Linked DNA regions of Homo sapiens: regions 2, 3, 4, 5, 6 and 7 are each linked to region 1. The links are contacts of gene promoters, found by promoter capture Hi-C in human tissues and cell types (Jung and others, 2019). All regions are on one chromosome and are shown on one strand. The core of a region is centred on a gene start or on the middle of the fragment in contact, and the rest is flanking DNA. Distances in the headings are between cores, read along the strand shown.

The links. The method cuts DNA at HindIII sites, captures the fragments that hold promoters and counts their contacts. A contact is called where the count stands out against the background at its distance.
Region 2: a fragment that was not itself captured here is called in contact with the fragment with the promoter of PPIB in region 1 in 1 of the 25 tissues and cell types used here (dorsolateral prefrontal cortex).
Region 3: a contact is called between a fragment that was not itself captured here and the fragment with the promoter of PPIB in region 1, in 1 of the 25 tissues and cell types used here (lymphoblastoid cells).
Region 4: a contact is called between the fragment with the promoter of PLEKHO2 here and the fragment with the promoter of PPIB in region 1, in 1 of the 25 tissues and cell types used here (lymphoblastoid cells).
Region 5: a contact is called between a fragment that was not itself captured here and the fragment with the promoter of PPIB in region 1, in 1 of the 25 tissues and cell types used here (hippocampus).
Region 6: the fragment with the promoter of OAZ2 here is called in contact with the fragment with the promoter of PPIB in region 1 in 4 of the 25 tissues and cell types used here (dorsolateral prefrontal cortex, hippocampus, lymphoblastoid cells and 1 more).
Region 7: a fragment that was not itself captured here is called in contact with the fragment with the promoter of PPIB in region 1 in 1 of the 25 tissues and cell types used here (lymphoblastoid cells).

Annotation. Positions count from the first base shown.
Region 1 is chr15:64,161,493-64,164,947 of GRCh38, forward strand. PPIB (peptidylprolyl isomerase B) reads right to left here and starts at 1,530. Exons shown (of 5, transcript NM_000942.5): 1 at 1,360-1,530; 2 at 549-662. The coding sequence starts at 1,494. RefSeq lists enhancers at 89-653, 887-1,387, 1,195-1,444, 1,388-1,888, 1,995-2,044 and a silencer at 1,495-1,854. The HindIII fragment of the contact is 5,042 bases long and covers 431-3,455 here.
Region 2 is chr15:64,993,032-64,996,486 of GRCh38, forward strand. No RefSeq gene overlaps it. Among named protein-coding and RNA genes, the nearest start is that of SPG21, 4.8 kb to the left of the region's middle. The HindIII fragment of the contact is 7,563 bases long and covers 1-3,455 here.
Region 3 is chr15:64,970,420-64,973,874 of GRCh38, forward strand. All of the region lies in intron 5 of SPG21 (SPG21 abhydrolase domain containing, maspardin), which reads right to left. Among named protein-coding and RNA genes, the nearest start is that of SPG21, 18 kb to the right of the region's middle. The HindIII fragment of the contact is 8,694 bases long and covers 1-3,455 here.
Region 4 is chr15:64,840,319-64,843,773 of GRCh38, forward strand. It overlaps PLEKHO2 (pleckstrin homology domain containing O2), which reads left to right and starts at 1,597. Exons shown (of 6, transcript NM_025201.5): 1 at 1,597-1,710. The coding sequence starts at 1,699. It also overlaps a transcript of LOC124903508 not described here. RefSeq lists silencers at 1,120-1,439, 1,450-1,889 and enhancers at 1,697-2,220, 2,253-2,804. The HindIII fragment of the contact is 9,878 bases long and covers 1-3,455 here.
Region 5 is chr15:64,722,695-64,726,149 of GRCh38, forward strand. No RefSeq gene overlaps it. Among named protein-coding and RNA genes, the nearest start is that of OAZ2, 21 kb to the left of the region's middle. The HindIII fragment of the contact is 6,629 bases long and covers 1-3,455 here.
Region 6 is chr15:64,701,350-64,704,804 of GRCh38, forward strand. It overlaps OAZ2 (ornithine decarboxylase antizyme 2), which reads right to left and starts at 1,932. Exons shown (of 5, transcript NM_002537.3): 1 at 1,680-1,932. The coding sequence starts at 1,699. It overlaps LOC124903507 (a long non-coding RNA gene), which reads left to right and starts at 3,194. Exons shown (of 3, transcript XR_007064679.1): 1 at 3,194-3,283. RefSeq lists silencers at 1,518-1,737, 1,748-2,067. The HindIII fragment of the contact is 8,869 bases long and covers 1-3,455 here.
Region 7 is chr15:63,625,952-63,629,406 of GRCh38, forward strand. It overlaps HERC1 (HECT and RLD domain containing E3 ubiquitin protein ligase family member 1), which reads right to left. Exons shown (of 78, transcript NM_003922.4): 70 at 2,726-2,864; 71 at 34-203. Among named protein-coding and RNA genes, the nearest start is that of USP3-AS1, 27 kb to the left of the region's middle. The HindIII fragment of the contact is 6,017 bases long and covers 1-3,455 here.

The sequences.
Region 1 (3,455 bases), core at 280-2,779:
AGGCAGGCGGATCACCAGAGGTCAGGAGTTCGAGTTCAGCCTGGCCAACATGGTGAAACCCTGTCACTACTAAAAATACAAAATTAGCCAAGCGTGGTGGCGCATGCCTGTAATCCCAGCTACTCAGGAGGCTGAGGCAGGAGAATCACTTAAACCCGGGAGGCGGAGGTTGCAGTGAGCTGAGGCCGCACCACTGCACTCCAGCCCAGGCGACAAGAGTGAAACTCCGTCTCAAAAAAAAAAAAAAATTTGCGGGGGTAGAGACAGGGTCTTGCTATGTTGCTCAGGTTGGCCTTGAACTCCTGGGCTCAAGCAATCCTCCTACTTTGGCCTCCAAAAGTGCTGGGATTTTAAGTGTGAGCCACTGTGCCTGGTCAGGGCCCCATTACTCTTAAGAAAGGGCAATACTGTGTTCCCAGGGCAACAGGCAGTCGGTGCTCAGTGAGGTCCACGCTACAGATCGGCTGAACTCTGCAGGTCAGTTTGCTGCCATCCCCAGTGCCAATTTCACTTCATGTGAGTTGACTACCCCTGCTCCAGCCACTTACCTCTCCTGTAGCTAAGGCCACAAAATTATCCACTGTTTTTGGAACAGTCTTTCCGAAGAGACCAAAGATCACCCGGCCTACATCTTCATCTCCAATTCGTAGGTCAAAATACACCTGAGGAAAGAGACCATTTCCAACTTAGCTTCTTTAAAGGGGCGTTGCTAGGGGAGGGAAGGTACAAGAAGCTAACCTGAGGATGGGAGAGAGAATAGAGCCATATTTTTAGAGAAGTGGTTCTGAATCTGATTTTGGTGACGGTAAAAATCCTATGAGAATCTAATGAAAGCTCCAGACCCTTTTCTTGGAAAACATGCTTATCTATACCCTCCTTGGACTACAGGATAACAATATTTGCTCTAAACAGCTAATGGACCCAGATTCTAAAAATTAACATTAGAAAACCCATAAGGAGCGGAGCCTAAGTTCACCACTTAAGTTTGAAGTATACATACTGTGCTTTGTAATTGGAAGTGGCTAAAATTTGGCTTAAGGAGAGAAAGGATTCGGAATCCGGCAGGCGTGATCTTTCACCATCTCCCCAGCACTGAGGGGTGTTTGCAAAAAGCCTGCTCTGAGACTGCCAGTGTCGGCCCCAGATGGGTATCCGGGGATCCAACTAACTCCCTGGGTCAGGGCAGGGGCTGGGGGTGTCGGGGTGGGTCCGGGTCGTTCCCTGGACTGAATGGGCAGGACGGCCCAGACGCCACGAGGCCACAGACAGAAGCCGAGGGAGGAGGGGCTGAGCCAAGGCCAAGCCAAGGCCGCCCGGGCCCGAGCTCCGGCACCGTAAATGCCGCGGACTCCACCGGACCTTGACGGTGACTTTGGGCCCCTTCTTCTTCTCATCGGCCGCAGAAGGTCCCGGCAGCAGCAGGAAGAAGACGGACCCCGCGATGAGGGCGGCGGCAAGGAGCACCTTCATGTTGCGTTCGGAGAGGCGCAGCATCCACAGGCGGAGGCGAAAGCAGCCCGGACAGCTGAGGCCGGAAGAGGGTGGGGCCGCGGTGGCTAGGGAGCCGGCGCCGCCACGCGCGGGTGGGGGGGACTGGGGTTGCTCGCGGGCTCCGGGCGGGCGGCGGGCGCCGTTTCCCCCCTCCGGCTCGGCGCCGGATAGTAGGTCCCCCTGCGGGGCGGGCACCGACGCGGGCTCGTGGGTGGTTGCCACGTTATTGCTCCCTCATTGGGCTCCCGGCCGCCCTCTCCCGCCCACAGGAAGGCCACCGGCGGAAGGCGGCCTCGCAGAGCACGGGCCCGGGCTCCGAGAAGACCACAAGCCCCGGCATGCTCCGCGGCCCGCCCCGCCCGGAGCGCTGTTCCACTGGCCTGCGGTAGCTGGCGCTTGAGGTTAGCAAATACGTGGGCCTGGACAAGGGGCACGGGAAGCTTGTCACTGTTTTGGGCCAGTCAAGTGTTTGTCACCGCCAAATTGGCTCTAAACGTTGTGGCTTCCAAACACTTCAGGGACATTTATCCTTACCGAGCGTGGCCTTGTACGGCTCCTCCACTTGTCTTGCAAAACTTGCTGCACAACCCACTTCCTTTTTTACTGAGGCCGTCAAGTTACTACCCATTTTTCTCTCCCTTCTGTAATCTTGCTGTGCTTACTGTTGTGTATATCAATGGACATCTTATTGTATACGCTGTTCTTAACTTCCTTTACCTTTTCCCCCAATAGACTACATTTTTTTTTTTTTCTGCGGAAGGGACTGTGTTGCATTTACTCTGTCCACAGCTCCCTCACAGCGCGGCAGTACTGAGTGCCCAACAAGTCCTGGTTGGGATAGCTTCACATCCGCACTGACATGAGAAATAATTTATGCCACGGCCTGAGGATACAATGCCTTTTTCCGGAGGTCAGGAATAGTTACTAGATGTCCCCACAGGGCTATTTTAGGTCTTCACACACTTAGTGTTGTCCCAATCTACAACATAGATACTTTGGTACTGGGAGTCTTACACACCAAAACAAACCAAAACACAAACTTCCAAAATTTGGACCTATGGCGTTAAAACGTCTTTAAAACTAATTTTCAACGATTAACTTCGTAGAAATTCCAGGTCGTCACAGCACAGATTATAGGCAGGGCTCCATTTACATAAATTATGCAATGTAGTCTTCATGAGGCGCTGACCTGAGACTGAAGTTATGCAAGGCCACTGGCATTAACTTTGTTGTTCATTACAGCGGCCTTACACAGGTTGTAGAGCTTCAAGACAGTTCTCTTATTTCCCATCCTTGCACCTCAATTCAGACAACCCCAATCAGGAGGAAGTTTTAAACATTGTTATACTGACAAAGATGATCTTCCAGATCCATCTCTCATCCCTTTTTTTTTTTTTTCTCCTATTTTGTTAAGCCTCTTTCTTCACTCACTGGTCTCAGGCTGCCATAGCCAGAGAAAAATGTTTACTAAATCATGTTTTCAAAGTAGCCTCCAGCTGGGCACAGTAGCTCATACCTGTAATCCCAGCACTTTGAGAGGCTGTGGCAGGCAGATGACTTGAGTCCAGGAGTTTGAGCCTGGGCAACATGGTGAAACCTGTCTCTACAAAAAATACAAAAATTAGCAGGGCGTGGTGGTGCGCATCTGTAGTCGCAGCTACCCCAGAGGCTGAGGTGGGGGAATCACCTGAGCCCAGAAGGTCAAGGCTGCAGTGTACTGTGATCGTGAAACTGCACTCCACCCTGTCTCAAAAACAAAGAAACACTCAAAAAACCCAAGTAGCCTCCTGCACATGAGGAGCTAAGGCTAAAATGGCATCACAGCAGCCTTTCTCCCACTCCCACTTTCAAAAGAAATCAGGTTGATGGATAAAATGCTCTCAATGTGAAACTTTTCTCTCATGATTCTTCCACTGCTACCTGCCTGTGAAAAAGTAATTAAAGAGTAGTAACAAACTGGAAGG
Region 2 (3,455 bases), core at 333-2,832, 830 kb after region 1:
GAGTAGAGCAGGTCTGGCTCTTGACTCAGATCTCTGTGGGGCCAAAGTGCTCTAGTCATACCAACTGCTTGAAGGGCCCCAAACACCTCCTGATGTCTCAGGAAGCCTCTAGGCTTTTGTATATGCCTTCCTTCCATTTAGAATGCCTCCCTCCAGTGCACCCATTAGAGTGAAAACATTTATTTTACCCCCAGGAACCACGGATGTGTAAAAAAGTGAAAGAGAAACAAAACACTTGCTTTTTCAGACTAATACTAATTCTTGGAATACCATCCCCTTAAAGCTTTACAGGGTACAGTCGATTGCAGTGTTATATACCAAATTATGCTGAGACCCAAGATTGAAAATGAATGCTCTTTCCTCATTGCCAGACCAAGTCTATGTAAAATGTATACTGCACTGGATTGGAGGAATCAGACACAAAGTGGGTATTCAGGAACTGGCTTAGAAAAATGCTGATGTGGCTATTTTAGAGGTTACTACCTAAAGGCATTATCAAACAGAAGTTATATATAGTTATTTTTAATTAATAATGTATTAGTTGTCATCTAGGAGTTCAGAAACCTGAGTTTTATCTTTGAGCAAAACATATCCTCTGCTAGGTCTGGTTTCCTTCTCTGTAAAATGAGGCCAAGGCTAAACTAAATTATCTGTAAGTTCTTTCCAATTCTAAGATTTTAGATTTTATAAATTTATAAGAGATTTGTCAAAGAATCTTTACAGCTGGGCGCGGTGGCTCACGCCTGTAATCCCAGCACTTTGGGAGGTTGAGGCAGGTGGATCACCTGAAGTTGGGAGTTCAAGACCAGCCTGACCAACATTGAGAAACGCTGTCTCTACTAAAAATACAAAATTAGCCAGGGTGGTGGCATGTGCCTGTAATCCCAGCTACTCAGGGGGCTGAGGCAGGAGAATCGCTTGAACCCGGGAGGCAGACATTGCAGTGAGCCGAGATCGCACCATTGCACTCCAGCCTGGGCAAAAAGAGCAAAACTCCATCTCAAAAAAAAAAATAAGGATCTTTACATCTTTACAGCAGTCTTTCCTCAAAGCTGCCCTTCTCTGATAATATTCCTCCTCCTTCTTGCTTCCAATCAAACTTTAAAAAAAAAAAAAAAACAGGCCAGGCACGATGGCTCATGCCTGTAATCCCAGCACTTTGGGAGGCCGAGGTGGGTGGATCACGAGGTCAGGAGATTGAGACCATCCTGGCTAACACGGTGACACCCTGTCTCTCCTAAAAATACCAAAAATTAGCCGGGTGTAGTGGCGGGCGCTTGTGGTCCCAGCTACTCGGGAGGCTAAGGCAGGAGAATCGTGTGAACCCGGGAGGCGGAGATTGCAGTGAGCCGAGATAGTGCCACTGCACTCCAGCCTGGGCGAAAGAGCAAGACTCCGTCTCAAAACAAACAAACAAACAAACAAAAAAAAACAGCCTACACACAAAAATGCTTATTTAACGGAAGCAGTATTTTAATCTCTCAGAAAAGTTAACGTTTGTCCATTAACTTTTTAGAATAAAAGTTTCTAAGCAAAGGTACCACATATTTTGTATCATCTGTCAACCTAGCATCTCAATGTTTCAACAATGTAAACAATGTAAATAATTAATGTAAATAACAATGGATAATCTACCTTCTGGTAGAAGAGCAGCAATAAAAATTAGTGGAAAGCAAGAGCTGCACTTCTTTACTACAAAAGATAGCTTCTATCTGTGGTGTCTTAGAAAACTTTATAAATCTTAGAGGTAAAAAAAGACAGTGATTACCTGGACATGGTGGTGCATACTTGTAGTCCCAGCTATTTGGGAAGTTGAGGCAGGAGGATACTTGAGCCCAGGAATTTGAGGCTATGTGTGTGATCATTGTGCCTATGAATAGCTACTGCACTCCAGCCTGGGCAACATAGTGAGATCTTGTCTCTAAAAAAATAAAAATAAAAAAAAATAAGACTGATGAAATAGTAACTAAAATAAAATATTTTTGAAATTGTCTAGCATAGTACCTGCATATAATGGGCATTCAATTGGCATGTGTTCCCATTTCTTTTTTTCTGAGCACCAAAGCCAAACACATTAAATTCCCTAATCAAGGATAAAAATATTTGCAAATAGACTCATGGCAATAGATTAGTTAGGCACACTGATTGGAATCTAGGTTACCAGGGCATACGTTCCAGCTCCACCGCTGAGTAGCTATTTAAAATTCTGGAAAAATGAGGATCAATAACAGTATCTGCTTCACTTGGTTATTGTAAAGATAAAATGAGACAGTCCAGGTCAAGTCCTTACACACATGGCTAGCCCTCAAAAAATGTTAGCTAATAATAGTGATATTGCGAACCTACTGTGTTTCTTCAGACACTGTGCTAGGTGAGTTCTTTTTTTTTTTTTTTTTTGAGATGGAGTCTCACTCTGTCACCCAGGGTGGAGTGCAGTGGCTTGATCTTGGCTCGCTGCAACCTCTGCCTCCCGGCTTCAAGCGATTCTCCTGCCTCAGCCTCCCGAGTAGCTGGGATTACAGGCGTGCACCACCATGCCCAGCTAATTTTTGTATTTTTAGTAGAGATAGAGTTTTGCCATGTTGGCCAGACTAGTCTCGAACTCCTGACCTCAAGTGATCCTCCCTCGTAGACCTCCCGAAGTGCTGGGATTATAGGTGTGAGCCACCACGCCTAACCAAGTATATTATTTCTATTCCTCATGACAATCTTTGCAAAGTAGGTACAATTTTAATTTCATGGATAGGGCCATACATGGAGAGGCTCAGTAACCAGCCTAGGCTTACAGTCAGTGGCAGGGCTAGGCTCATGTGAGGTTTGTTGACTCTAAGACTCTGCCCCTCAAAGTCATATATTTTCACCTTGAAATTGTTTGATAAATATGAAGAAAAATGGTGAAAATAGGTTGAACTGACTTAAATACAAAGTATAAAGCAACAAACATCCTTTGGGTAGCTATTCTCGAGAACTCAATTTTATGCTCAGAAATGTTTCTTTTGTCCCCCAAACCAAATGAAGAATAAAATCCTTCTTTAAAACAAAATCTCCTGTAGTCTTTGGGTTCTAATCCTAGTATTGTCACTACCTAGCTGTTGCTAGGCCCCTGTTTCATCATCTCTAAAAAGAAATTTTGAGTTATATAGATCCTTCCCTACTTGAAAATTCTTTTGCTCCTATTGGTCTAAAGACATTTCCAATAGCGTAAAAGTTCCTCTAAAAACTACAAATAGAGCTACCATATGATTCATCAATCCCACTACCAGGTAGTCATCCAAAGAAAGAGAAATCAATATATCGAAGAGACATCTACACGCTCATGTTTATTGCAGCAGTAGCCTCAATAGCCAGGATATAGAATCAACCTAGATGTCTAACAACTGAAGAATGGACAAAGAAAATGAGGTATATATACACAATGGAATACTATTCAACCATAAAAAGAATGAAATCCTGCC
Region 3 (3,455 bases), core at 290-2,789, 810 kb after region 1:
TTATTTGAGGATTTAGGATAATTATAAGAGATATTTCAAAATACCTTTACTGAGATAGACATTCTGATGAGTCCAAGATTGTTTTTTTTCTCTAATTGGCCCTATTTCCAAGGATTAAACTATTTCTTTTGGAAAACTGAATATTAAGAGAAGTATTCTTTCCTTCTGGTTGATATTATGTTTTTATCGATTGATATTTCAAAACAGATTTCAAAATACCAATATGAAAGCTATTGCACCTCCCCAAATTTGCTACTATTAGATTCAACTTGGCTAATTCAAGGCAAATTGATATTTATAGATTTATTTTTTAAATTTATTATTGTTATTATTTTTTGAGACAGAGTCTCAGTCAGTTACCCATGCTGGAAGTACAGTGGCATGATCTCGGCTGGGTGCAACCTCTGCCTCCCGGGCTCAAGCAATTCTCATGCCTCAGCCTTTCGAGTAGCTGCGACTACAGGCACATGCCACCACGCCCGGCTAACTTCTGTATTTTTAGTAAAGATGAGCTTTTGCAATGTTGGCCAGACTGGTGGTGAACTCCTGGCCTCAAGTGATCCACCCACCTCAGCCTCCCACAGTGCTGGGATCACAGGCGTGAGCCACTCCTGGCCTCTTTTTATTTTTTAATTAAAAAATTTAAAAAAAAACTTTTAGAGACAGGGTCTCACTCTGTTGCCCAGGCTGAAGTGCAGTATTGTGATCATAGCTCACTGTAGCCTCAAACTCCTATCAAGTGATCCTTCTACCTTGGCCTCCCGAGTAGCTGGGACTACGGGCTCGTACCACCAGGCCTGACTAATTTTTTAAAAATTTACTGAGCTGGGGGAGCCGGGGCCAGGCACGGTGGCTCATGCCTGTAATCCCAGCACTTTGGGAGGCCAAGGTGGGCAGATCACGAGGTCAGGAGATTGAGACCATCCTGGCTAACACGGTGAAACCCCGTCTCCACTAAAAATACTAAAAATTAGCCGGGCTTGGTGGCGGGCGCCTGTAGTCCCAGCTACTCGGGAGGCTGAGGCAGGAGAATGGCGTGAACCCAGGAGATGGAGCTTGCAGTGAGCCAAGATCGTGCCATGGCACTCCAGCCTGGGCGACAGAGCCAGACTCCGTCTCCAAAAAAAAAAATTTACTGAGCCAGGCGCAATGGCTCATGCCTGTAATCCAGAACTTTGGGAGGCCAAGGTGGGTGATCACAAGGTCAGGAGTTCAAGACCAGCCTGGCCAAGATGGTGAAACCCCGTCTCTACTAAAAATACAAAAATTAGCCAGGGGCGGTGGCCAGCGCCTGTAATCCCAGCTACTTGGGAGGCTGAGGCAGGAGAATCACTTGAACCTGGGGGGCAGAGGCTGCAGTGAGAACGTGCCACTGCACTCCAGCCTGGGCAACAGAGCGAGACTCCCATCTCAAAAAAGAAAATTTTTTTTCTGTAGAGACAGGATCTTGCTCTGTTGCCCAGGCTGGTCTAGAACTCCTGGACTCAAGCAATGCTCTTACCTCTGCCTCCCAAAGTGCTGGGATTACAGGTGTGAGCCACTGTGACTGGTCAGATCTTTACGGATTTCTATATATGATCTTTAGTTTATATTTATTCCATTAATTTCAACTGTTAAGAGCCATCATGGAGGGCAAACACTAATTTCTGTAAACCTATGACGAAAATTACTTAGATGAGGTGCAAACTACCTTCTGATGCTTATTACCACTGGGACAGCCTTGCTGGAAGTTGAGCTTCCCTCAAAAGGACCACTAGGTCACCTTCCAGTTAACTTTCTAAGTTCTCTCCCAGCCCCATCACTTTCTTATCTTTTGAAGGTGATGAGGTCTAAGTACGCTCTGTAAGGGGTGGACCCTGTTGACTTTGCTCACTCCTGGATCCTCAGTGTGTGGCACACAGTAAGCACTCAGATATTTGACAATAAGCAGCTGATGTGCCAGAGCACAAACTGAATGGGGGCTGTCTTGGCATTCTAACAATTAGAACAGCAATAAAAATCACCAAAAATAATGAGCATTATTTAGTGCATTATCTGGACGGGAAGGATTTGTAAAGTAGCTAATGTATACAAGAAATTGTTGCATGAATGCTGAGTAATTACTAAGATAACATCAGAAAAACTAAAAAATAGCTGGGCACAGTGGCTCATGCCTGTAATCCCAGCACTTTGGGAGGCTGAGGCGGGCGGATCACGAGGTCAGGAGATCGAGACCATACTGGTGAACACGGTGAAACCCCGTCTCTACTAAAAACATAAAAAATTAGCCAGGCATGGTGGCGGGCGCCTGTAGTCCCAGCTATTCGGGAGGCTGAGGCAGGAGAATGGCGTGAACCTGGGAGGCAGAGCTTGCAGTGAGCTGAGATCGTGCCACTGCACTCCAGCCTGGGCGACAGAGCGAGACTCCATCTCAAAAACAAACAAACAAAAAAACAAACAACAACAAAAAAAACTAAAAAATATCAGAGTGCAATTTTAAGTAGATGTGAAAACGATATTTCCCTATACATTATTTGAAAACACTGATCATACAGATGTGTTTACTCACTGGGCTTTTTTTTTGAAGTAGGGTCTTGCTCTGTCACCCAGCCTGGAGTACAGAGGCACAGTTGTGGCTCACTGCAGCCTTGAACTCTTGGGCTCAAGCGATCCTCCTGCCTCAGCCTCCTGAGTAGCTAGGACTGCAGGTGCATACCATGATACCTGGCTAATTTATTATTATTGTTATTTGTAGAGATGGGGTCTCACTATGTTGCTCAGGCTGGTTTCAAACTCTTGGCCTGAAGTGATCCTCCTGTCTTGGCCTCCCAAAGTGTTGGGAGTACGGCATGAGCCATCACACCTGGCCACTGGGCTTTATTTTAAGGCTAGAGCCTCGCCTTGCCAGCAATGAAAGAAGTGCACAGTAAGCCAGCTGTATGGCATCATAGATACCTACCAATTACTTAAAATGATAAAATCAATGAAAGGATGGCTCCTAGGAAACAAGTACCCCACTGGCTGCACCCAAAGCATTTCCACCATTTTGTTTTTGGTTTGTTTTTTTTTTGAGATGGAGTTTCGCTCCTGTTGCCTAGGCTGGAGTGCAATGGCGTGATCTCGGCTCACCACAACCTCCGCATCCTGGGTTCAAGTGATTCTCCTGCCTCAGCCTCCTGAGTAGCTGGGATTATAGGCATGTGCCACCTTGCCCAGCTAATTTTGTATTTTTAGTAGACAGGGTTTCTCCACGTTGGTCAGGCTGGTCTCGAACTCCCGACCTCAGGTGATCCGGCCGCCTCGGCCTCCCAAAGTGCTGGGATTACAGGTGTGAGCCACCGCACCCAGCCTCATTTCCACCATTTCTATCTTTTGGAAGAACAGACTAATATCAAGGGTCATGATGTGCAGAACATCTGTTGACAGACCAAATGCTCTATTCTTTCCATTTGGAGAACATATCTCAAGGAAATAAA
Region 4 (3,455 bases), core at 347-2,846, 680 kb after region 1:
CAAGTAGCTGGGATTACAGGGATGCACCACCTCGCCTGGCTAATTTTCTATTTTTAGTAGAGACGGGGTTTCTCCACGTTGGTCAGGTTGGTCTGAACTCCCGACCTCAGGTGATCAGCCTGCCTCAGCCTCCCAAAGTGCTGGGATTACAGGTGTGAGCCACCGCTCCCAGCTCTTTCTTTTCTTTCCTTCCTTCCCTCCGTCCTTCCTTCCTCTCTCCTTCCTTGTTTCTTTTCTTTCTTTCCTTCCTTCATTTCTCTTTCTTTTCTTTTTCTTTCTTTCCTTTTTTCCTTCCTTCCCTCCCTCCTTCCTCTCTCTCTCCTTCCTCTCTCTTTCTTTTCTATTCTTTCTTTTTCTTGACCAGTGTGATAATATCAGCCTCAATTTTCTTCATTCCTTTAGCTAAAGGATCCCAGGCCTAGGCATGAGGGAGAAGTGTACCTGCATCTCCTTCCCCCTTGGCCTGGGAGCCCCAGGCTGCCCTTTTCCGTACAGGGCTGGAAGTAGCCTGGGAGCCTGAGGGCTGGCAGAAGGCCGTGAAAGGGGAGCTTGGTCGCTGGCACAGCCGCTGCTATGGCAGCCAGAGCCGAAGAAGGTCACCATTGATCTCACATGCACTTAATTTTCCCTTCCTTGGCATGGGACGGGGTTGACCAGGAGAGCTAAGGGGGAGTATGCGTGTGTGTGTGAGAGGGGAGCGGTGCTGCAGGCTGCGATGCAGCCAGTTACTTTCTCTCTCTGGGCCTCAGTTTCTCCAATGTAAAATGAGGGCGCATGGTATAACTAAAATCATTACTCTCTGCTGGTCCCCACACTCCCACTCTCCAGTAAGGCTGTCAGGGCTGCAAGCTCACCGCGGGATCGGGGGGATGGTCGACCCTCAGATACGGGAGGGATTGAGCGATGCCCAAGGAGAGCAGGAGAACACTGCGCTTGGAGACCCCTGAGAGCCAGGGGCGGGCCGCCCCCTAAAGGGACCCCGGAGTCCCGACTCTCAGCTCCAGCTCTTCCTGTGACACCACCCTCCGGACAGAGACCCAAGCTCCAGGCCCGGCCCCGCCCAGAGGTTCCAGGGAGAAGACCAGGCCACCGCCCACTGCCCGGCGTCGGGGAGGAAAGAGGAGGAGCCTCTGTGTGCCCACATCTCTGGCCGCCCAGGGCAGCTCGGCTCGGTCTCGCAACCCCAGCCCACTGGTTCGGGAGACCTCAAAGGCTCCACCGCCAGCGCCCCCAGCGCTCACTGTGTGCGCCCCACCCCAGCCCTGCCTGCGCGCCGCTCCCGCCACCCTCGCCTCAGTCTCTGGGCCGGAAGCCCCCTCTCCTCCCCCGCCGCAGCCCCCTCCTAGTCCCTCTCCCTCCGCCGATGCGGGAAACCTTCTCCGCCCCGTCCCGCCCTCTTCCTCCAGTTGCATCTCCGCCCGGCTCCTCCGTCCAGTCTCCAACCCAGGCCCCGCCCCTCCCCACCCATTTCCCGCCCTGGGCCGGGCCCCCGGCCCCACCGCCCCCTCCCCGGCCCCGCCCCGGCCCCCGGAAGCCTCACCCCGCCCCCGGCCCCGCCCCCCCGAAGTTTCTTGGGCCCCCGGCAGCCGGCGGGACAGAACGCGGAGAGTCGCCGCCTGGCCGGGCGTAGACGCGGTGGCAGAGCCCGCGCGGCGCTGGAAGCGAGTGGCGGAGCGGCGGGACCTCGGCGGACTCGCCATGGAGGAGGAGGTGAGGGCGGGGCCCGGCGGGGCGTTGGGCTGGGGTCCTCGAGCCCCTCACGGGGATTGCGGTCCTGGGCTCAGGCCCTCGTTCCTGCCCGCCCCACTCCCGCCAGTCTCACCTCAGGAAGAGCCTGGGCAAATGGGGCAGGGGCGAGGGGCTGGATCCATATCGGGGACTTCGCAGACCGCGTCCTCCTTCATTCTCGCTGACTTTCTCACCAGTTGTGGGGCGTCGTGGTTGTTACCGTTCCCATTGGATTGACCAGGAGACTGAGACTCCAGCGAGATTGATGACTTGCTGAAAGTGGCCTGGGTGACTGGGCTCGAACCCCGATTACCGTGGTCGGATCCTGACTCTCTCTCTCTCTCTGTGTGTGTGTGTGTGTGTGTGTGTGTGTGTGTCGGATCCTGACTGTGTGTGTGTGTGTATGTGTGTGTTGGGGGGTTCCTGTCTCAAGGATCGGATCCTGACTCTGTGTGTGTGTGTATGTGTGTGTTGGGGGGTTCCTGTCTCAAGGATGTGACCATGCTTTGGTGGCAGGAGGATTGGAGAAGTTGCTTTTTTCTCCCTTGTATAAGTCTCTGTATCTTTTCCCCCACTCTCTCCCCGCTCCACATCCATCTGAGCAGCTAGCTGTAGGGAAGGAATCGGGAGTCCGGCCCACCTAGGGTCTGATCTTAGTCCCTGCCTTCCCCACCCGAGGGCTGGACCAACTGTGTCCCTGGAGCCTCCTTCTAACCACTCAAAACACTCTTGGCCTGGGATTGGGTCTTGCCCCTGCCCCTGCCCTTTACTTGCAAACTCAGTTCTGCCAGCAGCCGCTTTATCCGAGGGTCCAGCACGCAGCAAGCACTTAATATATGCCTGTGGAATGATTAAGTTAAAATGAGGGGCCTGTTGGGTCTAGAGGAAGGTGAATTTGTTTCTTATCCCCTGAGGGGGTCCCAGCTTCAGCCCCTCTCAGCCCAAGGGAAGGGGCATGTCTTTGCCTCCTTGGATGGGGAGGAAAGATGAAGTTCTCTGCCTTGGGGGAACCCTGGCCAGCTGGGAAGCCCTGAGTGGACCGGACTGCCTGTGTCCCTTCAGTGCCCACCTCCCACTTTTCCAGGGCCATGGATAGGAGCAGCTAGTGGTCCGTCAGGGCTCCCTCTAGGCCAGGCCCTGCCTTTCTGTGGGATGGTAGATAAGTCACTTCCCCTCTCAGCCTTCATTTCCTCTTCTACAAAATATAGTGCCTGTCCTCCTCATACTCCTGGCCTGACAGTGGCCGGTTCTCTCAGTGGGTGAAGGTAGGGGGCAAAGTCAGGCCTCTGTGATTTGCTGCGGTTTCTTTCTGGCTGTTAGGTGGGGCTGCCATCTGCCTGCCCCAGGCCCCTGCTGCAAGGGCTGGGCTCTCTGGCCAGGGCCCCTCCCCTGCTCCCAGAGGATGTGGGTCAGGATTACTCCATCTCCTGATCTGCGCTGGCCCCTGATTAAGGGAAGTTCTCCGGACACCTCCTGGGCCCGGCTCAGCTCTGTACACCCTTGGTCCTGAATCTCTCACATTGTCACTTTCTTTTCTTTTTTTTTTTTTTTGAGACGGAGTTTCGCTCTTGTTGCCCAGGCTGGAGTGCAGTGGCGAGATATTGGCTCACCGCAACCGCCACCTCCTGGGTTCAAGCAATTCTCCTGCCTCAGCCTCCTGAATAGCTGGGATTACAGGCATGCACCACCACGCCTGGCTAATTTTGTATTTTTAGTAGACATGGGGT
Region 5 (3,455 bases), core at 283-2,782, 560 kb after region 1:
GCAGTCTTGCTGTGTTGCCCAGCCCAGGCTGGAGTGCAATGGCACAATCTCAGCTTACAGCAATCTCCGCCTCCCGGGTTCAAGCGATTCTCCAGCCTCAGCCTCCCCAGTAGCTGGGATTATAGGTGCCTGCCACCACGCCCAGCTAATTTTTGAATTTTGAGCAGAGACAGGGTTTCACCATGTTGGCCAGGCAGATCTTGAACACCTGACCTCAGGTGATCCACCCACCTCAGCCTCCCAAAGTGCTGGGATTATAGGCGTGAGCCACTGCGCCCAGCATTTTTTTTTTCCCCCAAGATGGAGTTTCACTCTTGTTGCCCAGACTGGAGTGCAGTGGCGCGATATCAGCTCACCGCAAGCTCTGCCTCCCGGGTTCCAGCGATTCTCCTGCCTCAGCCTCCCGAGTAGCTGGGATTATAGGCATGCACCACCACGCCCAGCTAATTTTTGTATTATTAGTAGAGACAGGGTTTCTCCATGTTGGTCAGGCTAGTCTCAAACTCCTGACCTCAGGTGATCCACCCACCTCAGACTCCCAAAGTGCTAGCTAGGATTACAGGCGTGAGCAACTGCACCCGGCCAAGAATTCTTAAATATAAGACACAAAATTGTATAGGAAATACAACTTATATTGAGAGAGATGTTCTCATGCTAGAGTGAGACAGTGATAAGCATCAATGTTTTTGTTGGCTGGTTGGTTGTTTTTCTGAGACAGAGTCTTGCTCTGTTGCCTAGGCTGGAGTGCAGTGGTGCAAATGTGGTTCACTGCAGCCTCGACCTCTTGGGCTCAGGCAGTCTCCTGCCTCAGCCTCCCACGTACATGGGAATACAGGTGTGCATGACCATGCTCAACTAATTTTTTGTAGAGACAGGGACTCACTTTGTTGCCCAGGCTGGTCTCCTGGGCTCAAGCCTTGGCCTCTCAAAGTGCTGGGATTACAGGTATGAGCCATTATGCTTAGGCTGTGTTTTCGTTGTTATTGTTGTCTTTTTTTTTTTTTTTTTTTTTTGAGACAGTCTGACTGTGTTGCCCAGGCTGGAGTGCAGTAGCTATTCACAGGCATGATCGTAGTTCACTGCAGCCTCAAACTTCTAGGCTCAAGTGATCCTCCTGCCTCAGTCTCCTGAGTAGCTGGGACTACAGGTACATACCGCCACACCTGGCTAGGCTCAATTTTATTTCAACGTTTCAATCTCACACATGGTAATGCTGAGGTATCTTATTCACATAAGTACCTGGGAAAGGAAGAAGTTCTAGCAGAGTCACTCAATACCACCTAATCATCAAGCAGATGACAACAAAATTTGTTTCAGGTCCTTCCATTCAAAAGCAAAATATTGGGAAAGCTTTAGTTTGTAGAAAGGATCTATAATACAGTCATTTGAGTCATTCACTTTCTCAATATTGAAATCACTATTTCAAACTGTTTCTGTTTGAATTCCCAGAGATTTTTACACATCAAGACAATATACCAAATACCAGATCTCCCAACATACCAAACATCAGATCAACCAACAAACCAAATACCAGATCACCAACAAACCAAATACCAGATCTCCCAACATACCAAATACCAGATCACCAACATACCAAATACCAGATCACCAACATACCAAATACCAGATCTCCAACATACCAAATACCAGATCTCCAACATACCAAATACCAGATCTCCAACATACTAAATACCAGATCACCTAGCATACCAAATACCAGATCTCCCAACATACCAAATATCAGATCAACCAACAAACCAAATACCAGATCACCAACAAACCAAATACCAGATCTCCCAACATACCGAATACCAGATCACCAACATACCAAATACCAGATCTCCAACATACCAAATACCAGATCTCCAACATACCAAATACCAGATCACCTAACATACCAAATACCAGCTCTCCCAACATACCAAATACAAGATCTCCCAACATACCAAATACCAGATCTCCAACATACCAAATACCAGATCAACAACATACTAGATCTCCTAAGATCTAGGATGAAGGGCCAGGCATGATGGCTCATGCCTATAATCCTAGCACTTTGGGAGGCTGAGGTAGGTGGATCACTTAAGCCCAGGAGTTTGAGACCAACCGGAGCAACATGGCAAAACCCCATCTCTACTAAAAATACAAAAATTAGCCAGGCACGATGGCTCACACCTGTAATCCCACACTTTGGGAGGCTGAGGCGGGAGGATCACTTCAGGCAAGAGGTCTAAGACCAGCCTGGCCAACATAGCAAAACACCGTCTCTACTAAAAACACAAAAAATTAGGCCAGGTGCGGTGGCTCATGCCTGTAATCCCAGCACTTTGAGAGGTCGAGGCGGGCAGATCACAAGGTCAGGAGTTCCAGAACAGCCTGACCAACATGGTGAAACCCCGTCTCTACTAAAAACACAAAAATTATCTGGGCATGGTGGCTTGCACCTGTAGTCCCAGCTACTCAGGAGGCCGAGGCAGGAGAATCACTTGAACCCAGGAGGCGGAGGTTGCAGTGAGCCGAGATCGAGCCACTGCACTCCAGCCTGGGTGACAGAGCGAGACTATGTCTCAAAAAAAAAAAAAAAAAAAAAAATAGCCAGGTGTGGTGGTGCGCACCTGTAATCCCAACCACTGCACTCCAGCCTGGGCGACAGAGCAAGACTCCATCTCAAAAAAAAAAAAAAAAAAAATTAACCCGGTGTGGTGGCGTGCACCTTAATCCCAGCTACTCGGGAGAGTGAGGGAGAATCACTGGAACCCAGGAGGCAGAGGTTGCAGTGAGCCGAGATCGTGCCACTGCACTTCAGCCTGGGTGACAGAGGGTGACTCTCTCAAAAAAATAAACAAGTAAATAAAAATAAAAATACAAAAATTAGGCAGATGTGATGGCACATGCCTGTAATCCCATCTATTCAGGCAGTTGAGGTGGGAGGATCACTTGAGCCTGAGAGGTCGAGGCTTCAGTGAGCCATGATCTCACCACTGCACTCCAGTCTGGGCAACAGGGTGAGAACTTGTCTCAAAAAAAAAACAAAAAAAAGCCTGTAATCCCAGCACTTTGGGAGGCCGAGGTGGGCAGATCACCTGAGGTCAGGAGTTCGAGACCAGCCTGGCCAACATGTCAAAACTCCTCTCTACTAAAAATACAAAAATTAGCCAGGCGTGGTGGCACATGCCTGTAATCACAGCTACTCAGGAGGCTGAGGCAGGAGCATCACTTGAACCCGGGAGGCGGAGGTTGCAGTGAGCTGAGATCGTGCCATTGCACTCCAGCCCAGGTGACAGAGCAAGACTCCATCTCAGAAAAAAAAAGATATAGGATGGGTGAGACATATATGTCCTTTGTAGCATATCCACTAAATTATGCTATAATAACAACCAACATCAAAATCTATGTTGCTTAAGCCAACAAAGGTTCCTCCCCATCTTCCCCAACACTCTAATGTCCATCACAAG
Region 6 (3,455 bases), core at 682-3,181, 540 kb after region 1:
TGAAGCCAGGGTAAGAAACACTGAAATACAAGAAAAGCTGAAAACCCAGTTGGAATATTTAAGGCTGGTGCTGTTAACAAGTGGGAAAGGAAAGTTGAGAGACTATTTCAGTAAGAAGAGTGCCCAAGTTTGAGAGGAATCCTGAGTGGCAGTTAGAGGGCTCTATGCAAAGAAAAGCAATAAAGAAGGCAATGCATTTGAGAGGAACTAGTCTAATTCTGAATAGAACATGGCCCAATTTAAGGAAGATTTACAGGGAATGGATCTGCTTGCAAAATAATGAGGCCCAAGTGAGAGGCAGAGGCCATAAGGCCAAATCTGGGGACAAAAGGTCTGGTGTGGGGAACTAATGAGCTTCAGACACGGTTTGGACAGGACAGCAACAAGTTTGGGGAAAAAATGAGGAAGAGAATTAGGTCCAAATTGTAAATGAAAGCCATTCTGATGTATAAGGAGCAACTAGGATTAAAAATTCCGGGGAATTAGGAAATTGTGGAACAGTTTCAGAGAACAGAGGCAGAAATATGGGATATATTAAAATTTGAGGGAGAGATAGGTGAGAAGGGTTGTCTTGGAGAAAGAGAGGCATGTAGAGAAAGGAAAATTGAGGAACTATCTGCAGGGGGAAGGATATACCATGCAAGTTTGGAAAACCAGGGTGCTCGGTCTGAGAAAGATGTGCAGCCTTTCTCTAATTAATGGGGGAAGACTAGGGTCGGGTTTTGAGGGAGGAAATTGCAAAGATCTAGTGTCCAGAATATAGAGCTTGGTTTGAAGGCACTGGAGGTACAGGGGGAAGGTTCACTGGAAGCGAGATGGCTGGGTCCTGTGATCTAATGATCCAAAGACGGGATTCAGTTAAGAGGGGAAGGAGAAGGATGAGTTCCAGCTGAGAAAAGATGTTTAGAGGGTAAGAATGTTTCCAAGAGTGTTGGGGGTATACCATTGGGGCAACAGGATGGAGCACAAGAATCAAACCTGGTGTTTGATAAATAAAAGGAATGGCGCTGGGAGACTGGGAAAATGGGGCCTAACTGGGAGAGGGGTGTGGAGAGGGGAAGGTGGGGGAAAGATGAAGCTGAAGTATGGGACCAGGAGGAAGAGGCTGGACATCTGTGTAAGGACTGCTAGGCCTGAAGAGAATGGGGGGAGGGTGATGAGTGGGGGTAAACTGAGAACTGAAGGATGGAGGTTGACTTTGCGGGGGGCAGTGATATGAGAAGAGTCTGGGTGGGGGGTGCAGTTTTCATCAGGGAGGGAATTCAAAGGGAAGGGTGAAGTGACTTATAAGGGGAGTAAGAAAGATTTGAGGAAGACAGGAAACAATTTGGGGAATCTGGATGCCGGGGAAAGCCCAGTTTGGGGAATGGGGCACAATTCGGTGGGGCTGAAAGAAAAAAGGGGACTTGCTTGGAAGGTTGGGTTCCGGCTTTTGGGGGCTTTAGGGGAGGAGAAGGCCCGGATGAGGGGGATGGGCCCGGCTGAAGAGGGGGCTAAAGGACAGAAGAAGGCCCAGTTGCAGGGCTGAGGACCGGACTAGGGTGGCTGAAGTGGTGAACGGACCTGGCTGGGGGCGGATGGCCCCGCTGCGGGGGGCGGGGGCCGGCTAGGGGTACGTGAGAGGCCCTCTGGAGCAGATGAGGGAGGATGGGGGCGGGGAGCCTGGGCCGGGCCGTTACCTGTCCTGGGTGTTTATCATCCTCGGCGGCTCTGCTCAGGGTGGGAGGAGGCGGCGCAGGGAGTGGATAGATGGATGAGTGGGTGGGTGTGGGGTCACGCGCGCGGGGTCGATCTCTGCGGGCTAAGTCCCTGTCAGGCCGCGGGCCGAGCGCCTCCTTTTGCCTCAGCGAGCGCCTGCCTCCAACTGACCCTCCCCGGCCGCCACCGCCGCCGCCGCCGCCGCCGCCCCGCCCCCGAGTGCCTCATCTGCATAGCCCCACCCCAGCGCCGCGCGGTGTCCTGGGAAACTGGGGCCCACAACAAAGGGCAAAGCACCGCCCCGCCTCCGCGCAGGCGCACCACGGACCGATCGTGGGGGTAGGGCTAGGGGGTCCGAACGAAGGGCAGGCTGTGCAGGAGGCCATGACCAAGGCGGTGGGTCTGCCCGCAGCTGCGGCAGCGCGGCCCAGAAGATGCGTTGTGTTTCCGGTAGTTTTCTGTGAGGATTGACTCAACCTGGTCCTCATCCCTATTCCTTGTTGGCGTGGGGCCGAACAGGGCTGTGCCATTTGGGAGGATATTAAAACAAAATCAGAAATCTTAAGAGAACTACACACATATTAGCACCATTCCTAGTCTGAGTCCAGGCCCACAGATCTGTTATCTCAGCTCATAATGCAGATCAATAACCTCAGCTGTCAGGGTAGATCAACAATCTCAGCATCTCGCACACATCTCATGTCAATCGTCAAGGCTGCTCCAAGCACTGGCTTAGGTCATCTGAAGCCAGAACTCTGTAGATCATGAGCACAGTCACAACAAGACAGTCGTGGAAAGCGTCGTCACTAACTTGTTCACGGTCACTTCAGATCACAATCAGTGCAAGTTACTTCAATCGATCATGCAAGGTTACTAGTTCAGTCACCTCCATTCATTATCCCTACTGGTCCTTATGACAGATTAGTGCCTGAAGGCCACAGTCACCGGTGCGCAGACCCCTCAGATCACAGTCCTTGTAGGTTACAATCACAGACACTTCAACACAATCATCAAAAGCCCCGACTCTGTTCACAGTCAACCCAGATTGCAATCAAGAGAGGTCACATTATCTCAGATCACAGTGGGTCACTCTGTCACCTCAGATTACATCCATTCAGTTATTCAACAAATAATTATTTTATTTATTTACTTATTTTTGAGATGGAGTCTCTCTCTGTGGCCCAGGCTGGAGTGCAGTGGCACAATCTCAGCTCACTGCAACCTCCACCTCCCGGGTTCAAGCGATTCTCCTGCCTCAGCCTCCTGAGTAGCTGGGATTACAGACATGTACCACCATGCCCGGCTAATTTTTGTATTTTTAGTAGAGACGAGGTTTCACCATGTTGCCCAAGCTGGTCTTGAACTCCTGACTTCAGGTGATCCACCTGCCTCGGCCTCCAAAAGTACTGGGATTACAGGCATGAGCCACCGCACCCGGCCAACAAATAATTATTGAATAGCTACTTACTGTATGCTCCAGGCATGTGCTAGAGTCCAAGAATACGCCATAATCAACCAGGCAAGGTTCCTGCCTTGGATGTCACAATCCGGTCAAGGGGAGAGACACAGGTCATCACAATACCAGGTAAGTAAGTGCTCAATCTGAGGAATGCCACAGAGAAAGTAATTTAGGGAATTAGGGACAGCTTTGCAGAAAGAGTGATAACTCAGAGAAAGGGTGACACTCCAGATCGGCGGTCACTATGACTTTCAGTTCACAAACATCTCACATTGGAGTCATCTCAGGATATGGTTAC
Region 7 (3,455 bases), core at 387-2,886, 540 kb before region 1:
TGTGCCTGGCTGCTTACCACGCCAGTCTGTTACCTGGTTGTTGGGGCTAAGGTTCAGCAGTCTCCAGGATGAGTACATGAGGTCAGAGAAGTGGTAGAGCAGCCGGAGCCTGGCCCGCACCGTGTGAATGCTGACTTCTCTCAGCGCCCCATACTGGGGGGGCACTGTGTCAGGCAGGCCCAGCTGCAGAGGTACTGACACACCTGTCCAGAAAGCAAATGGGCACTTATGAAGGAAACAGCATTGCTTTCACTTTTCACATTTTGAAAAATTTCAAGCATACAGAGAAGTTGAGATAATTACACAATGGACACCCATTCAAACCTCTATCCATCGATTCATCTTAGTTTGGTGTGTGCATTTGTGTTGGTTTTTAAAATGTCTTTATCAGGGGGCGGAGAAAAAAATAAAATAAAATAAAATGTCTTCATTATTATGGAAATGAAACCTGGTATTTTCTCTTTTTGTTTCCCATTTTATTTAACAATAGAACTTAGGCAGTTCTTTCACAAAAATAAAGCCAAATTTTTCCTTTCATATTTAATAATTGTCATCTTCATAATACCACAAATGTGGGCAAGGACTAAGTAGGCAGTTCTGGAAAATGGAAATGGGAAACTTAGCAGAGCCAACTCCATATTCACTAGGGATCTGATAGCAAGTATTCATGACAGAAACATATAGGTGCATGATTCATGAGGCTTTTACTACAAGAATAAGAGTTCTGTAAGAAGCAAAGACTACAAGGCCTGCAGCCACAGCTACCCTCCTATAAAAACACATAAAAGAATAAAAACAAGATACAAACTCACTTCAGTTTCCTGTAAATAAAGACTGGTACAGTGCAATTCCTAGATTTATTATTATTGTTCGTAGTAAAAACTAACATTTACTGAGTACCTTCTATGTGCCTGGCACTATTCTAAGAGCTTTACATGAATGGGGCCACTTACTTCTACAGCTCTTTGCAGTAGGTGCTATTATTATCCTCATTTTACAGACAAAACACTGAGTCTCAAGGTCACTCAGATCATATGTGGAGGAGCTGGGATTCAGCCCCAGCAATGTGGCCCCAGAGCTTGAACCTTTACCTGTCACACTGGATAGCTTCTGCCCTAAAGTGGAAGTGAAATCCCTCTGAAGCCACTGAGTACCTGAAATTGTCAGTGCGTAGGCAGCTCTGCTCATTCTAGATTCTGTTAATAGAAACCATTTCCTGCTTGTTTGGCATCTACCTGGAATTCCCACTTTTCTCTCTTAGATATCTAAGAAACAAAATCCCTATGGGGAATCTTAGGACCCCCCCTAAGAAATAGAGGGGTTAACAAAACTGGAAGAGAATGCTGAGCTCTTAGGCACAATGTTGCTTCAGGGAAATTCTAGTGCCTTAGACACCAGAAGATGGTAGAAAGACAAGGCTTGAGGGCCTTGTCCAATAGGCTGGACACAGTGGCTCACACCTGTAATCCCAGCACTTTGGGACGCTGAGGCTTGAACTCCAGACTTGAGGTCAGGAGTTCAAGACCAGCCTGGCCAATATGGCGAAACACCATCTCTACTAAAAATATTAAAATGAGTTGGGCGTGGTGGCACATGCCTGTAATCCCAGCTACGTGGGAGGCTGAGGCAGGAGAATCGCTTGAACCCGGGAGGCAGAGGTTGCAGTAAGCCGAGATTGCGCCATTACACTCCAGCCTGGGCAACAAAGTGAGACTCTGTCTCGAAAAAAAAAAAAAAAAGGAAACTGCCCAAATATGAAGAAATGTGTAAGAATGACAAATGTCACAACATTAAGGTAACAGCTACATCTGGAAGGAATGGAAGATAGATCAAATCAGAAAGGGCCCACAGTTGGGTGTTGAGCACACAAGTATGTATTATGGTTTTCTTTAAATCTTTGTGTAGCTATACAAAAATTTCATAATAAATTAAAAATAAAACAAACAACAAAAAGCTTGAAGTAGCCCACCAGTCTTGCTAAACACAGGAATAAAATGGCAGCAAGTTGACTGCTGTGCCAATGCACAGACATCATGTTTCAAATGGTTAACTAAGGTGAGGAATTTGACAAATGGTCTCAGGGCTTTTAATCTTTATTTCTAACAGTGGGCCTTAGAAAGCTATAATTTGTCATTTCTTTTATATATTAAAAATACCGGCCAGGCGCTGTGGCTCATGCCTGTAATCCTAACACTTTGGGAGGCTGAGGCGGGCGGATCACTGGAGGTCAGGAATTTGAGACCAGCCTGGCCAACATGGCGAAACCCCGTTTCTACTAAAAACAGAAAAAATTAGCCAGGAATGGTAGTGCATGCCTGTAGTCCCAGCTACTTGGGAGGCTGAGGCAGCAGTCATTTGAACCTGGGAGGCGGAGGCTGCAGTGAGCTGAGATCACACCACTGCACTCCAGCCTAGGTGACAGAGCAAGACTCCATCTCAAAAAAAAACTTAGTTGCTGCTAAAATTATAAATTTTTGCTTGCATAAGTAATATGTATTCTGCTTTTGGGAGTGCAGAGAGGACGTGGTTCATACTGATGTCAGCAGAACAAATGCCTGCTATGAAAATACTTCCAGTGCTAGTAGCACAAAGAATGCTTTGTGTGGCAGAAGGCTTGATGGTTTCACAACGATGCTGGATACAGTTGGGAACTGGCAAGCAGACAGTGCCATGGGGTACTGCTAAAAAAGAAACGCTGCAGGAGCATGAATATTTCATTCCTCACCTGGTGCTCTTGGTGGGACAGGTGGTGCTGTCCATGCAGCACTGTGGCAGCGGCCAGCCGAGATCTGCCGAACATTTTTCCCTTGCAGACCTGTTACCAGGGTTGGTTCTCGAACATGGTTGGTATGGCCTAAGCCGAGCTGGGAATAAATCACAAATATACAGACATTCAATTAGAAAGAGGAAGAGAGGAAGTCAATATGAAATTTTTCTTAGATGGTGGCAGACATAAATAAGTTAATAACTGTACCATGCATCAGCATCAATAAAACACATTCTTTTTTTTTTTTTTTGAGATGGAGTCTTGCTCTGTTGTCCAGGCTGGAGTGCAGTGGCACAATCTCAGCTCACTGCAAGCTCTGCCTCCCTGGTTCAAGCAATTTTCTGCCTCAGCCTCCCAAGTGGCTGAGATTACAGGTGCCCGCCACCACACCTGGCTAATTTTTGTATTTTTAGTAGAGATGGGGTTTCACCATCTTGGCCAGGCTGATCTTGAACTCCTGAGCTCAGGCAATCCACCCACCTTGGCCTCCCAAAGTGCTGGGATTACAGGTGTGAGCCACCACGCCCAGCCCCCAATAATAAAATACATTCTGATTTTCTTTATCATAACAGTCCTCACAGCTCCGACTGCTAAAAACTAAGCTGCAACAAGGCCATTCCAAATCTAGCAGATGAGTCTTAATGACTAAACACATCCTTGGATTCCACTTACGGAAAGGAAATGAATT